Regions from separate parts of the Homo sapiens genome. Here region 1 is linked to region 2. Evidence: promoter capture Hi-C in human tissues and cell types (Jung and others, 2019). All regions are on one chromosome and are shown on one strand. The core of a region is centred on a gene start or on the middle of the fragment in contact, and the rest is flanking DNA. Distances in the headings are between cores, read along the strand shown.

Region 1 (4,019 bases), core at 590-3,089, 1.1 Mb before region 2:
TCCATTAAAGGATTTGCTTGGGGTCAGAGCAGCTAGATGGCAGAGCATCCAAGCTCAAGTCTATCTATGAGCTTTTGAAAATACCACTTTTTGGTTGGTGTTATGGGTCACGCCAGTAATTCTAGCACTTTGGGAGGCCAAGGTGGGCTGATCGCTTGAGCTCAGGAGTTTGAGAACAGCCTGGGTAACATGGAGAAACGCTGTCTCTATAAATAATATTAAAAAATTAGCCAGGCAAGGTAGCACACAGTAGTCCTAGCCACTTGGGTGGCTGAGGTGTGAGGATCGCTTGAGCCCAGGACATAGAGGCTGTAGGGAGCCAAGATCGCGCCACTGCACTCCAGCCTGGGTGACAAAGTGAGACCCCGTCCCCCCCCCCCAAAAAAGGAAATATTACTTTTTAAAAAACTTATTCTAATACATTTGAATGTACCTGATATGAAATATTGAGAAGGATAGTGGAATTCAGTATCATATAATTTATGAGTTAATGTATAAGATTCAAAAGAGAAGAAAAAGCAAAAGACAGGTTCTAGAGACAAAAAGGTTTGGAAAATTGATGAACTGTTTGAGGGGATGGTCCCTAAGATGATGCAGAGGGCCTTGGGAGGTGGGGAATGAAAAATTAGCTCAGCTATCACTCTGATGGTCTATCATTCATAGTTTTTGAGTTGATTTTCCAGTAGTGGAGGTAAGTTTCTGTGAACACATCTATCATATTTAAAAATTTTTTCACTTAGGACCAAAAGTACATATTTACAAGATGGCTGCCCATATCCATGTAGCAGAATGATGGCCCACCGTATATAGCTCATCTCCAAATGGCCAGAGTCCAATTTCAGCCTTGGGAAAATAAAAACCTCCAGGACAACTACCTTAGATACAGGGAGGGATCTTTTGGAATCACTTCTTCAGATACTTGCCCACCATTGGTTAATTGGTTAGTCTGGGATAGAGGCAGGTGGGAGTGCTCCATTTTGGGCTAGCTACATGAATGGCAGGCTGAGGTGTCAGTAGCCTAGTGGTAGAGTACGGCAGGGGCAGCCAGCATGTCCTGGTAGCTGACCCTTGTGGAAACTGGCACAGCTGGCAGTTTTCAGAACACAAGATTGCCCTCCCCTGCCAGGTCCTTGCAGAAAAGTGATTGGGTCTTCTGAGGAATACTCAAGCTGGAAGTCAGGAACGTGTCCTCTAATTCAGCTATTTCCAATGTGTAGCACAGGGTCATGCATACGGTGGACACTCAATGATGATGCATATAGCCAGGCAGCCACAGATATAAGAGCAAGCCCCAGCAAGAACAGTAGAGTCCAGCTCAGAGTGAAATGAGTTACTATATATCATCATTCTAAGATGCATTTTCTCCCCAAATTTTCACTTTTTTTTTTTTTTTTTTTTTTGAGATGGAGTCTCTCTCTGCCACCTAGGCTGGAATGCAGTGGCACAATCTCAGCCCACTGCAGCCTCTGCCTCCTGAGTTCAAGTGATTCTGCTGCCTCAGCCTCTGGAGTAGCTGGGATTACAGTCACACACCACCACACCTGGCTAATTTTTGTATTTTTAGTAGAGATGGGGTTTTATCATGTTGGGCAGGCTGGACTCGAACTCCTGACTTCAAGTGATCCACCCGCCTTGGCCTCCCAGAGTACAGAGATTATAGATGTGAATTACCACGCCTGGCCCATTTTCACATTTCTAAAATCAGGATGCATCTTAACATTGGTCTCTTTGTTTCAACAATTTGTATTGTCGGAGCTATAATGGATTCAACTGCAGTTGAAGAATGTCTTTACAAAGATTATGCTCTGATTCCATATTGAAAAAATGTTATTTTATGCATAGAAAGTAATGGAAATAGAGAATCAATGTGTAGTAACAAAGGCATTTGCCATTGGAAGAATATCCATAATTCCATATTTTCTTACAAATTAACATCAAAGTGCTTTTTGGGGCATAAGAAAAAAAGTAAACAATAAGTAGATGATCCTGTGATATTTGGTTACTGAGATACATGCAAAGGATTGCCTAACACAGGCTGTATTAGTTTCCTGTGGCTGCCTTAATAAATTTCCACAAACTTGGTGCCTTCAGCTGACAATAATTTACTCTTCTCTTAGTTCTGGAGGCTGGAAGTTCAATGACAGTTTTGTTGGGTTGAAATCAAGGTGTAGGCGGAGCCATGTTCCCTTGGAGGCTTTAGGGGACAATCTCTTCCTTGCCTCTTCTGGTTTCTGGTGGCTGCTACTCTTCCTTTGTTTGTGGCTGCATCATTTAAATCTCTACTTCTGTCTTCACATCACCATTTTCTCTTCTGTGCATCAAATCCCCCTCTCCCTTTCTCTTATAAGGACACTTGTGATGGCATTTAGGGCCTACCCAAACAACCAAGGATAATCTCTCCATCTCAAAATCGTTAATCATATCTGCAAAGACCCTTCTTCCAATTAAGGTAATATTTACGGTTTCCAGGAATTAGAATCTGATTTCTTTGAGGCCACCATTTAGCCCACTACACAGGCCAAACAATGCAACTAGGGTTAGGGAAACCTCCAAATTTGTAAGAATAAGTAAAAGAAAGCTTGGTGTGACTAATTTATGTTGCTATTTTCATTATGCTCCCTGCCAAAAATATCAAGAAAGAGTCAATATTAAAACTATAGAATGGGTATCAGTTGCTTGGAAGAAAATTACAGAGATAACAGAGAACTCTTCTAAGAAATGTTCTTAATAAACCAGAAGATAAAATTGGGTGGTAAATCACTAGATATTGACCTTTCAAAGTGGAAAATTATTCAGAAGGGCCAAAGAATTTTTTTAAAAAAACTTTTGTGTGGTAGATTAATTATAAAAATAGTTCTAAATTTCCACACGTACACAGTCTACATGTTCTAAGCAAAGTGCATTTGTAGTTTCTCCCATTGAGAGGTAAAATTTATTTCCCTATCTCTTGAATCTGGGATGCCCTTGTGACTGGCTTTAGCCAATAGAACACAGCAGAAGTGGCACTATACCTGTTGTAAACCTAGGTCCAACAGGCCTTATGACTTTCTGTTCCCTCCCTAGTTGCTACAAGAACAAACTAGCCTATGGGATGATTAGAGATGCATGGTTTAGCTGGACCCAGTGGCTCACACCTGTAATCCCAGCACTTTGGGAGGCCAAGCTAGGTGAGTTGCTTGAGGTCGGGAGTTCGAGACCAGCCTGGGCAACATGGTGAAACCCTGTCTCTACTAAAAAAGAAAAAAAGCTGGGTGTGGTGGTATGCACCTGTAGTCCCAGCTACTTGGGAGGCTGAGGTGGGAGGATTGCTTGAGCACAGGAGGTGGAGGTTGCAGTGGGCCAAGATTGTGTCACTACACTCCAGCCTGGGTGACAGAGGCAGACCCTGTCTAAAAAAAAAAAAAAAAAAAATGCATGGTTTGGTTTTCCTCATACCCTAGCCAATAACTGGCCAGCCACCAGGCATGTGAGTGAGGCTGTTCTTGACCAGCTAGCTCCTAGCCAAATAGACAGCCAGCCAAAAATGTATGGGCAAGCCCCAGCAAGAACAGTAGAGCTCAGCTCAGATCAGCAGAGCCTCTTAACTAACTCAGATTCCTGAGTAACAACTAAAGCTTATTGCTTTTAAGCCACTGGGTTTCAGGATGGTTTCTTTTATGACAAAAACTGTTACATAATAAAAAGTCACAAGACTTTCATGACTGGGATTGACTAAATGATTCAGAATGAATTAGGCTCTGAATATAAAATAATTTTTGGAATATTTTAACTAGTTTATTTTGCTTATAATTTCCTTTTATGTATCCTTAATGGCAATATAGGATTAAAATAAAGTTATAAATAAGTCTAAAAGAGATCCTTAAGTAAGTATAAAATACAAATTCTAATTTTAAAAAGGCTTAATGTCATGCTTTTATTGGAAGTATTTCTTTCCTTTGTATGGCTACAGTTTTTAAAATTTCTTTTATTCTGGGACCCTCCTACATTCAAGGTAGTTTCAACAAAATAAAAGAATTCTA
Region 2 (3,896 bases), core at 214-2,713:
TTTTACATAACCTTCAAGAACCAAGGTAACATCACTTCCTCAGGAAGTCATCCAGGACCCATTTGCCAAAGTAAATGGTTCTTCCAATATGTTTGTATACAACCGATTGCATTATAGTAGATTATTAATTAGTGTGAATTTCATCTGCTAGAAGGTGTGCTACTTGAGGGCAGAGTCTGGATGGGGCTCATTCCTCTTTAAATTCATAATGCCTGGCACAAAGTGGTAACTCAGTCTTTTGTTTTGCTTTGGCTTCAAAACAAGAATTTCCCAGTCCTTAAACTTTATTTATTTATTTGAGACAGAGTTTCGCTTTTTCACCCAGGCTGGAATGAGGTGGCACAGTAATTACAAACTTACTATCAGCCATACTGTGTACTGGAACTGACCTTGTACAGTGGATCTGAGGCAGATTCTCAGTCGATAAAGCTACCCTCACACAATTCTTTTGGATCTTGGCTCACTGTAACCTCCGCCTCCCAGGTTCAAACGATTCTCCTGCCTCAGCCTCCCTAGTAGCTGGGATTACAGGTGCCTGCCACCACGCCTGGCTGATTTTTTTGTATTTTTATAGTAGAGACAGGGTTTCACCATGTTGGCCGGGCTGGTCTAGAACTCCTGACCTCAGGTGAGCTGCCCACCTCGGCCTCCCAAACTGCTGGGATTACAGGCATGAGCCACCGTGTCCAGCCAGTCCTCGAGCTTTAACACTTCCCAAATAGTAAATACGGTGAAAATAAGTGAAACCTATTTTTTATGCAAGAAAACTGTGAGTGTGAGAGTAAGGTAGCAGCCATCATGTTCATGTGCTAACTACTAACACACTTTATCGCCAATGCTCACAGCCGCCCTACGAGATAAACATTATAATCTCAGTTGTACAGGTAGAGAAACTGACCTTGTCATCCAAAGTTACACACTGCCAGCAAGTGCCCTGGCTTGAATCCCTGGCACCTGCCTCCAGAGGTCGCACTCCTAGCCACTTCGCCATGCTTCCTCGATATTCATTAGTATTCTTGCAAATATTTTTCGACTCCAGGTGCTTCACATAGGTTAATTCATTTCCGGTTCAATAGTGTCTGGCTTCAGTAATTACGAACACTACCGCATTTACCCACTGTGAAAAATAATTCACTCTTTCAAAGTTCCTGTATAACCTAATTTTCTAATTCACTTTTGTGTCTTTCAGTTGAGGTACTCCCTGCCTTTTCTGTGTCTACATAAGCTTCCTTTCTTTCGTTTCGTAGGAATAAATTGAACTTATTTTAAGATTGAGGGGGGTACAGCTGTATGGAATATAGACTCATCTTTTTTCACTCTCTGTCACAGAATGAAAAAGGACACCATGATATAGCAGCTGAGGTGGTGGATTAAGATAATGAGGCGGGGGGGGGGCGCAAAACAAAAAAAAAAGGAGCCTTGCTCCACCCCTGCCCCGCCCCCGGCCTCCTCCCGGGGACCCAGAGTCCTGGAAGGCTTTGGGGAGCTCCGGGCCGGGCGGATCGCTGCCTGCAGGGAGTCGGGGATGCCAGGTTCCAGCTGAGCAGCGGCCGCCCGCCAGAGTGCCAGTGGCTCCTTGGAGGTCGAGTCCAAGGACGTGGCTTGAAGCCGGGAGCTGGGGCGCCGGAGTCCACGCACCGGGGATGGAGGCGCTGGGTGACCTGGAGGGACCACGCGCACCAGGAGGTGACCATGAATTGCGTGGCCGGGAGCCCGGAGACCAGCGGCGGCTTCCGGCGTGTCTCTTTAGCAACGATTGAATTGCTTATAGCTTGATCTGTTTCCGAGAGATTGGAAAAGGCTGGGGCCTGATCGTGGGGTTCGGGCCAGCGTTTCTTTTCTCTCTGGACGGGGTAAAGTTCCAGGATTGGATATGTGTCACGGTTTCTAATGACTTTCTAACCTATACCTCTGCTTTTTAAGTACTGTGTGTTTAATGCATTCAAATAAGTATGCCATTAGGCAAATGTAAAACGTTACCTTTCAAGTACCCATTGTTGTTGCCTTTCTTTTTAACTTTCATTTCCCTTTCTCATCTACTACAAACATTTTACAAAGATTCGTAAGACTTCCTCATGTTGCACTGATTTTTTTTTTCCTTCTGGACTGCAATGGCAACCTCTGACAAATAGAGCAAAGCAAATGTATTTCTCTTAAGTTTTTCCTAAAAACAATTTAATTTATAAATGGCTGATGGATTTGCTTGGATATTTGGAACTCAGTAATTGATTTCGTGTTTTTAAATGACAATTTAGCCCTGGAAATAAGTGTTAAATTAACTGATGTAAAAGACCAGTAATTAGGGTAAAAAAAAAGTATTTATTTATGAATTTGTGGGACTTGTCTATCCAGAAGCATACCGCTGTAAATATTAATTCACCAGCTGAATGATTTAGCTTGTTTTCTCCTACTTACACTTCATTTGACTTCAATACTGCCTTAGAAATCTTTGTTTTTTGTTTTTGTTTTTGTTTTTGTTTGTTTGTTTTGTTTTGCTTTTTTGAGACGGAGTCTCTCTCTGTAGCCCAGGCTGGAGTGCAGTGGTGCGATCTTGGCTCACTGCAAGCTCCGCCTCCCGGGTTCACGCCATTCTCCTGCCTCAGCCTCCCGAGTAGCTGGGATACAGGGGCCCGCCACCACGCCCGGCTAATTTTTTGTATTTTTAGTAGAGACGGGGTTTCACCGTGTTAGCCAGGATGGTCTCGATCTCCTGACCTCGTGATCCGCCTGCCTCGGCCTCCCAAAGTTCTGGGATTACAGGCGTGAGCCACCGTGCCCAGCCGAAAGCAGTACGTTTTCAAAACGGCAGTAATGTACAAGGATTGTGTTCCATTTGATCAAATGTGCTATATTCAAAATAGCCCTAAGCTTAGCAAATGATATCTTCAGAGTGCAACATATGTGCACAGAAATCACATTTGTGTACTTTAATCAGTAGTCTCAATTATATGCCTAATTGCTGCATGTTTGCATTCAAGGTGATGATCCTGCAGGAAGTGCAGGAGAGACCCCCGGGTGGCTTTCGAGAGAACAGGTTTTTGTACTGATATCGGCAGCTTCGGTGAACTTAGGTTCCATGATGTGCTATTCTATACTTGGACCGTTTTTCCCCAAAGAGGTAAGACATTTTTAAATCCTTAGGACCTCTGTTTTTTTGTTTGTTTGTTTTTTAAAAGCCTTTTGAATTATTTTATTTTATAGTATATAAAATGTAAAAATCTGCATATAGGACAGATGGTGTATAGAACTCCAGCCAATAGAATACTTCTTATAGAATGCCTGATACCAGGAAAAAAAATCCAGTCAAAAAGAACATCTTCTTGGGAGGTAATTCACCTAAAAGTAGTTGATCTTCTGAGAATTACTTTTCTTACCATGTAGTCTGATTAATCTTTATTTGGTTTCTGCAACTGAAACAAAGGAGTGCACTGAATAACTGAGATTCAAATGTTACTGCAATAGGTCTGTGTTAAGACAGTAACTATTTTCTCGAGGTTTTATTCACATTTTAGAATTAGGACGTTTTGATTCCCGACCCCCCTTCCTTTTTTTTTTTTTTTTTTTTTTCCTTTCGAGACAGGGTTTCGCTCTTGTTGCCCAGGCTGGAGTGCAATGTTGTGATCTTGGCTCACTGCAACCTCTGCCTCCCGGGTTCAATTGATTCTCCTGCCTCAGCCTCCCGAGTAGCTGGGATTACAGGCGCCTACCACCACGTCCGGGTAATTTTTTTTTTTTTTTTTTTTTTGAGATGGAGTCTCGCACTCTCGCCCAGGCTGGAGTGCAGTGGCGCGATCTCGGCTCACTGCAAGCTCCGCCTCCTGAGTTCACGCCATTCTCCTGCCTCAGCCTCCCAAGTAGCTGGGACTACAGGTACCCGCCACTACGCCCAGCTAATT

Evidence for each region. Contacts are between HindIII fragments. The study calls those that stand out against the background at their distance.
Region 1: a fragment that was not itself captured here is called in contact with the fragment with the promoter of SLC18B1 in region 2 in 1 of the 25 tissues and cell types used here (mesenchymal stem cells).

Annotation. Positions count from the first base shown.
Region 1 is chr6:133,899,270-133,903,288 of GRCh38, reverse strand. No RefSeq gene overlaps it. Among named protein-coding and RNA genes, the nearest start is that of TCF21, 12 kb to the right of the region's middle. The HindIII fragment of the contact is 4,638 bases long and covers 1-4,019 here.
Region 2 is chr6:132,796,204-132,800,099 of GRCh38, reverse strand. It overlaps SLC18B1 (solute carrier family 18 member B1), which reads left to right and starts at 1,463. Exons shown (of 14, transcript NM_052831.3): 1 at 1,463-1,686; 2 at 2,979-3,118. The coding sequence starts at 1,644. RefSeq lists a silencer at 1,396-1,445 and an enhancer at 2,677-3,177. The HindIII fragment of the contact is 3,873 bases long and covers 1-3,672 here.